2 separate regions of the Homo sapiens genome follow, and region 1 is linked to region 2. Evidence: promoter capture Hi-C in human tissues and cell types (Jung and others, 2019). All regions are on one chromosome and are shown on one strand. The core of a region is centred on a gene start or on the middle of the fragment in contact, and the rest is flanking DNA. Distances in the headings are between cores, read along the strand shown.

Region 1 (3,606 bases), core at 446-2,945, 170 kb after region 2:
CACCATGGTAGACTCACATGATCCCTGAAAGGCTCTTTACAAGCATCAGCTCATCTTATTCAGACAATCCTCCCATGATGTTGAAAGGGATTCTTATTCCCATCTTACAAAAAAGGAAACTGAGTCTCAGGAAATTGGAGTCGCTGTCCCAGGGGCAGAAGAGAAATTTAAGCCCAAAGTGTCCTACTTTCAACCCCCCCCCCACCTGCCCCTCGCCTCTGCTTTAGTCTCATTTGCCATTGGGTGGTGGTGTTTATTTTCTTCTTTCTACTTCTCTGTATTTCCTCTAATAAGCATGCCTTCCTGTAATAATCAGAAGAAAAAATAAGCAAACACTAGAAAGTGTTCCTTGGTGGGTTGCCTGTTTCTTCTGGAGCCTGTGGCACCACAGTCTACGATTTCTGTCTCCTTGGCACTCTCCTGGCTGCCCAGGACGGCAGCCGCCTCCAGGGCCTTCTGCCACACGCACCCCCACTTGCCCACTGTAGACAGTGGGGTCTGCAGTCAAAGCCCCAGGGCTGCTCACACACACTAGGAGCCCTAGCACAAAACTCTTAACCTGGGAGCCTCAGATTCCTCATCTGCAAAATGGGAATTAGTAATACTTCCCGCTTGTCAAGGTTGTTGTGAAGATCCAATGGAATAAGATGGTAATATTCCACCGATATTTGCTGTGTGCCTACTGTGTGAGAGCATTTGATCATTTGCAAAACTGAACGCTGCCTCAAATCCCTCCTGGACCATGGTGAGGTAGGAATTGCTAAGTAAACATCACGGCTGTTATCGTTGTTCTTGTCCCTGCCTAGCTGGCGGCAGCCTTGTACATCCAGACGGGCAGTGGTTCCTTGGGAACCTCGCAGAACCGGGTGGAACCGAGCCTCCCTGGGAATGGCAGCCCCAGAGGAGAGTGGAACATGCCACAGCCCACAAGACCCCGAAAGACCCCGCTAGACCCCGCTTTGCCTGCTGGTTTTCTGCACCAAGAATCGATTTTCAAGGGTGTTTCCCAGAAGTGGTCTGGCCTCTCTGGTATCATCATTCATCCCACCCTGGCCGCCAGCCACTCCTCACCAAGCCCTCTCTGCCCTGACCGCCTCTTGTAATTGGGGCCCCCATCACAAGTGAGAAGGGGGAGCAGCTGGGACAGGAAGCCGCTTCCTGAAAATACCCTGACCTCACCCATGAGGGTCTGGATGCCAGCACCCCCTGCCCGCCATGTCCTGGCCTTCACCCCCTGAGGCCCTTGGCAAGGCTGGGCCAGGAATGCCACACTGGGGCCAGGGGAGCCTTTCCCAGGCTGGGGCTTAGAGAAGAAGGGTCTAGGCCAAGTGGTCAGAGCTGAGGGTGGGGTACTTCCTGCGTTCCAGGGGGAAACGAAGCCACTGCCAGCTTCCCATGCTCATCCCAGCTTGCAGATGTTCCAGAGAGTGTTCAGAGGAAGTGCAAGGATTAAGACAGGGAGTAGGGGACAGAACAGGAGAGGATCCACCCAGGGAAGGTGAGAGAAGAGCCCTGGAGAGGTCACAGGGATCAGTGGGAGGAGCCTGGGACAGAGGACACACAGGCTGCCGCTGCTGCTGACCTGCTGCATGACCCTGGGACAGTCACATCCCACTCTGGACCTCAGTCCATCTGCAATCCAAGGGGGCTAAACAAGACAGTTTATTTCAAGAATTCACTCAGCACCTCCTGCTGCGGGCCCTGGGCTGGCCCCTGGGGGCAGAGAAGCAAAGGAGACAGGCCTCCTTCCTGCCCCCTGGAGCTAACTGTGGGTGGGAAGGCAGAGAACAAACAATTTCAATAAGGAATGTGAGATGGGAAGTGAAAGGGTGCCAGGGCAGACCGGGGTGCCAGGGGCTGGGAGGATGGGGCAGGGTCTTCCTGGGGGATCAGGAGGGCTTCCCTAAGGAAGGAAAGACCTGGATACATAGGAATCCACTGGATGTCCCAGACTCAGGGAATAGCATGGCTGGGACTGGGAAGCTGGTATACGGGGAGGACCAAAAGGCCCAGGGGGGCTGGGCCATTGTCCCTGTTGGCCACGGTAAGGATTTTGATCCTCTAACAAGAAACCACGGAAGGGGAAGATGGAATAGAGGTGCTGCTGTGCCTGGGGCTGGGGCCTTCAGTCCCCTTCTCATTTGCAGAGGTGCCTCAGTGGAATCCCAAGGCCTCAAGGAACCCAGTTGGGAACCACTAGGGCGGCCAATTTCTAAGGACACTTCTGGGCTCCATGAGGATTCTAGGCCATCCCCAAGCTGCACTTGGGCCCATGCTAGCACCCTCCAGCAAGGCTTTGACCAAGCCCCACCCCAACCTGACCCAAGGGAGCAGCTCACCAGGGCCTCGTGCCCAAGAGGCTCATCACTGACCACCACCCCCCACCAAGTCTCAGGAAGTAAGGAGGGGAGAAGTGAGGTCATCTGGCCCCAAATAAAGGCTGGTTTCTGCAGATGTAAGGCCTTTCCTTCTTCCTTCCTCCTGTTCCGGCCCTTATCATGTCCAGGTCAGGCGCCACCTCTTGAGGAAAGCTTCCCTGGACCCCTTAGGCAGAGTTGATCCCTCCCTCCCTTTGGCTCCACGCCACTGTAGCCACTGATGATCTCACCAGTGTGTGAGTTCCCAGAGACAGGGGTGGCATGGCTGCATCTGTGCATTCATTCATTCGTTCATTCAACAGGGGCTGGGAATGCTGTGATGAACAAGGTAGGCCAGCTCCCTGTGCTCAGGGTGCTCGCAGTCACCTGTGACCTAAAATAGTGCCATATTTATCTTTGTACCTCAGGGGCCCTCTCAGGGCCTGGCACCAAGGGCCCCCAGTGAGTCTGCTGAATAAGTGGATCAGAGAACAACAAGGGTGGACAGAAAGAGAGTTAGGGGAATGTGGAAGTGGGGAGGAAAAGCCCCAGTAGGGAAGGTTCTGTGGGCCTCACCTTCCCCAGGTCTCACCCACATCCTAGGTTGCCCCCAACCTAGGGCAACTTCTCACCCAACTCAAGGACCTTGCTTAGCAGCGCTACCGGACACCCTGATCCCCTCCCTAACCCCACTGAACTGTGGCCATATGCTTTCCAGTCCATGCTGGATTTTTCAAAAGGAAAACAAGGAACGGCAAAGAAAACCAGATCCCAAAGAAAGCACACAGGCATGGCCGCAGGTACAGATGCCTTCAGGCAAGTCTGCCTGGACAGCTGAAGGGATGTTGGCCAAGGCATTGTTTCAGCATGGCTGGGCGGGTGCTGCACCCAGAACACAACAGCATCCCTCAAACCACCACCACCACCAACATCAGTAACAGTGTCAGCATCAACACCACCACGACCACCACCAAAACCAGTAATAACATTAGTACAAACACCACCACCACCACCACCACCACCACCAGTAACAATGTCAACACCAATACCACCACCAACACCAAAACCAGTAACAATGTTAGCACCACCACCACCAAAACCGGTAATAACATTAGTACAAACACCACCACCAGCAACAATGTTGGCACCAATACCGATACCACCACCATCAAAACTAGTAATAATGTTAGCACCAACATCACCAACACTGACACCACTTGTAACCATGTTAGCACCACCACCAACACCA
Region 2 (3,807 bases), core at 171-2,670:
GGCATCTGTCTTCTCAGTTAGAGAGAGTATGAGCTCAACAAGTTTTTCATCAGGGCCCCCATTCCCAGAAGGCCCCCCCAAAATCTGATGAGCCCCTTGTGCTAGGAGAGTGGGGAGAGGAGGGAGATCTGTCACATGCTGCAAGGGGCAAAGGTCACAGGTGAGGCGAAGGGGAGGGATGGGGACACCCTGGGGCCAGCCAGCGGTGAGCGCCCCAGGCTAAGACAAGGCTGACCCCACTGCCGAGAGAGGGCGGGCAGGGGGTGAGATTGAGGGCTGGGTTCATTTTATTGTATTTTGCCTCCAGCGTGGGGCCAGAGACGCTCTTTCCCCCGGGAGACAAAAGGCCTGCAGTTGTGGCGTCCTGCCCCGCTGGGAGGGCGTTTCGCCCCCAGGACTCGGTGTCCCGAGGTTGAGGCTACTGGTCACCCTGGCTTCAGAAAGCGAAGAATTCAGGAACCTCTGATCACCCCACCCTGACTCCTGATCATTCAGTTGGGGCGTCCCCTCAAACCCACCAGCAAGGAGCTCAGAGTTGGTGAGTTCAGAGCTGTATCAAGTCTTGACGGGCTCCCTCCCTCCCATTTCCCACCTCTTTGGGCCCCCAGATCCTCACACCAGCACCAACTCCCTGTAAACCCAACTACCTGCTGGAAAGGAGTTATAGGCCCGGCCTGGGGGCCTGAGGAGGACGGCGGCGGCTGGAGACGTCTGCACGGGGCGGAACTGGAAGGGGAGGAAGAAACCTGTGCCTAGCACTTGGCAGACCCACTTTGCCAAGCCTCGGAACCAGATACGGTTACTGGGGGCTTCTCAGAGCGGCAGGAAGGTAGAGTAAGAACCGGACACCGGGGCTCTGACATTACACAGAAAAGGTCAGAATTCCTCCCTTCAAGTCACCCTAGGCCGGTTCCCGGGGAGCCTCACTGGAGGAATTTCAGAGGGTGTAAGACGAGGGAGAAGATGAGAAATAGGGCGGACTCTGGCCCTCGGAGGCCAGAGAAAAGGCGAGACTCCAGAGAGGCGCCGGACCCGAGGCAGACATTCCCATACAGCCGGGACTCCGAGAGCAGCCGTGGGCGACCTGGGGGCCGGGGACTCGGCGGATCCGGCCCATTCATCAAAGGAAGGCACTGGGACAAAGTTGGCCCCCTCCCCTTCTCCCCCAGCCCCCAACTCGCCGGGATCGGCTCCCTCTCTTTTCACGGCGGTTCAAATTCTCCCCCAAAACGAGGTCGAGCCGGGGATTAGAAAAGAGGGAAAAAAATATTCGTTGGCGATTTCTTTTCGTTATTGGTCCTCCGCTCCCTTGCGCCCTGGCCCCCTTCCCTCCTCATGAATAAAAGAAAAGTCCGAACCTATCAGATCGCGCTCACTGCCTCCTCCTCCTCCTCCTCCTCCTCCTCCTCGTACTTCGGTGAACACTTTTGCACAACTTACCCAGCTGATCACTCGCGCCCCCTCGCTTTTCCATTTCTCTTTCCCCAACCCCGTCACCCCCTGTCTCCTCCGTCCAGCCCTGAAACCCGAGGAGGCTCCTTCTTCCGTCTGTCCCCGGGTCTCCTAGGGGACGGGGCTGTGAAAGCTGGTGTGGAGGGAGAAGCGAGTGTGGTCCGGAGAAAGAAGGCGTGGAGAAGAGGGAGGGAGCGAGAGCGAGAGAATAAATATATAAATAAATACGAGAACGAAATCCACTCCGCAGTCTCCGGGCTCGGAAACTTTGGCCCCGAGCGCCAGAGCGCCAGAGCGCGAGAGCGCGGCGCTCGCCACTCTGAGGCTGGCGGCCTCGATTCCGGCCGCGTTCCCCCGGCCCCCCTCCGCCGCGGGGCCTGGTCTCCGGGTTCTGCCAGGCGCATCAGCCCGCACAACTTCTGGCCGAGGCCAGCCGGCAGAGGCGGACTTGGGGTTGGAGTGTTTGTTTGTTTGAACTTCCTCGTCGTCGCCACCTTCCCTCCCCCCAACCTCCACCCCACCTCACCCCCCTCCCCAGCTTCTGGACGCGTTTGACTGCAGCCAGGGGTGGGGGGTGGGGGTAGGGAGTGTGTGTGGAGGGGAGGGAGAAGAGGTTAAAAAAAAGAAGACGAAGAAGACGGAAAGAAAGAGATCGCAGCAGGGGTGAAGGGAGCGGACGGGAAGCGATTTTTGCCGACTTTGGATTCGTCCCCGGCGTGCGCAAGAATGGCGGCCCTTCCCGGCACGGTACCGAGAATGATGCGGCCGGCTCCGGGGCAGAACTACCCCCGCACGGGATTCCCTTTGGAAGGTAAGAACGCCCAGGCTGGCCTCGCCGCGACTCCGCCGCCCGGAACTCGGGGTCCTTGGAGAGGCTGCGGTCTCCAGGGGACGGTGGCGGCGCCGGCGATAGCAGAGGGATCCCGTTCTCTTCTGGGTCCCAGTCCGGGCGCGGAACCCAGGGAGTTTCTGGGACCCATACTTGTCCGCTTCTGCGTGGGTTTCACTGCCCGGCGGCCTTCGTTTCGCAGGTCGCTAGCTGCCGGTCTTTACCCGCAGGGCTGAAATTCTGGTAGATTTGGACTCCTAGTAAATATCAGGTCCTGGTGAATTTCAGCTCTTTCCACTATTTCCAGACACTTCTTCCCTGACAGTTTCTCGGCTCTCCTGGCTCGCTGGCTGCCAGCTTTCTACTCTTGTTTTGAATTATTTTTTCCACCCCCGGGATTGGTCTTCCAGTCCTTTATTTCGAACCACCTACCATGGGTGATACTTTATATGCCTCAACTACCACGGCTATCCATTTCTTCCGAAGCCACAGTCAAACACTCCTGCTTTTCCGCCTGGAAACAAACTAATTGGAAATAATAATTAGTAATGATTTTCCCCCTAAAACTTTTTACTCGGGCTTCCGCACTCTGGAAATCTCCCGGGAGAGAACCTCTAAACGGCGAGGTTTAGAGAACCTCTAAACGGCGAGAGGGGCACGGCAATGTCCAAACGAGAAGAAAGAGCTGATTTTGTAAAGCGTCCTTCCTAAACATCCAGCGCCCGCCCGGGGAGACCCGATAGGACGGGCGGCGGCGAACCGGGTCCTGGCTGGAGAAAAGGCTGGGAGCGCACAGCGGAGAGACCCGCTCCTGTGTTTTTGTTCTGTTTTCTTTTTAAACTAATGGAAGGCCTCAACCTGTCACTGAGGGATCATTTGGCTTCTGAGGGTAGGTAGCCTAGGGTGTCACAGAGAAGTCATTAGAAATATGTGCGACTTTTTTTTTTTAAATTACTCTTCCTGTGATCGTTTGAGTCCCTGGCGCGTGAGGAAGGGGAGAGGAGGCAGGGAGGGGGTGGGTGGGCTGGCAGCCTGCGATCCGGGAGGAGCTCCCTTGGGCAGCGAGACGGCGCCGGGTCCCTGAATTAGACAGAGGCGAAGAGAGCGGCTCCGTGATCAAGTGCGCGCCGGCAGCCACGCAGGCGGGAGAGCGCGCAAACCCGGGGATTTGCAGTGGCACTCTCCTGTAGCGAATGCAAGTAAAACAGGCGGCTGAGGACGCGCGGCGGATTAGAACAATATTTGCCCAACATGACGCAGAATACTGAGGAGAGCCGAGTGCCGGTCGCTAAAGAGGCTCTTGAATATAAAGTTGGGCGCTCGAGAGCTCTTGAGCGCTAATGGCATATCCCGCCACGGAGACCGAGTGACTCCGACTTTGCGACGCACGATTTCTGATTAAATCCGAGAGTGGCTTCAGACACCGACTTTTACAAAGAGAGGTGGGGGGACCGGGAGAGCGAGGGAGGGGGCGGTAGGAACGGCCCAGCAGCGGAGCCTCTTCTCGCCTCCTCCCTTTCAATTAC

Evidence for each region. The method cuts DNA at HindIII sites, captures the fragments that hold promoters and counts their contacts. A contact is called where the count stands out against the background at its distance.
Region 1: a contact is called between a fragment that was not itself captured here and the fragment with the promoter of PAX7 in region 2, in 3 of the 25 tissues and cell types used here (IMR-90 fibroblasts, aorta and mesendoderm cells).

Annotation. Positions count from the first base shown.
Region 1 is chr1:18,797,912-18,801,517 of GRCh38, forward strand. No RefSeq gene overlaps it. Among named protein-coding and RNA genes, the nearest start is that of TAS1R2, 60 kb to the right of the region's middle. The HindIII fragment of the contact is 8,367 bases long and covers 1-3,606 here.
Region 2 is chr1:18,629,426-18,633,232 of GRCh38, forward strand. PAX7 (paired box 7) reads left to right here and starts at 1,421. Exons shown (of 9, transcript NM_001135254.2): 1 at 1,421-2,263. The coding sequence starts at 2,179. RefSeq lists promoters at 1,105-1,890, 1,294-2,204, 1,928-2,204 and enhancers at 2,744-3,807, 2,752-3,807, 3,762-3,807. The HindIII fragment of the contact is 8,003 bases long and covers 1-3,807 here.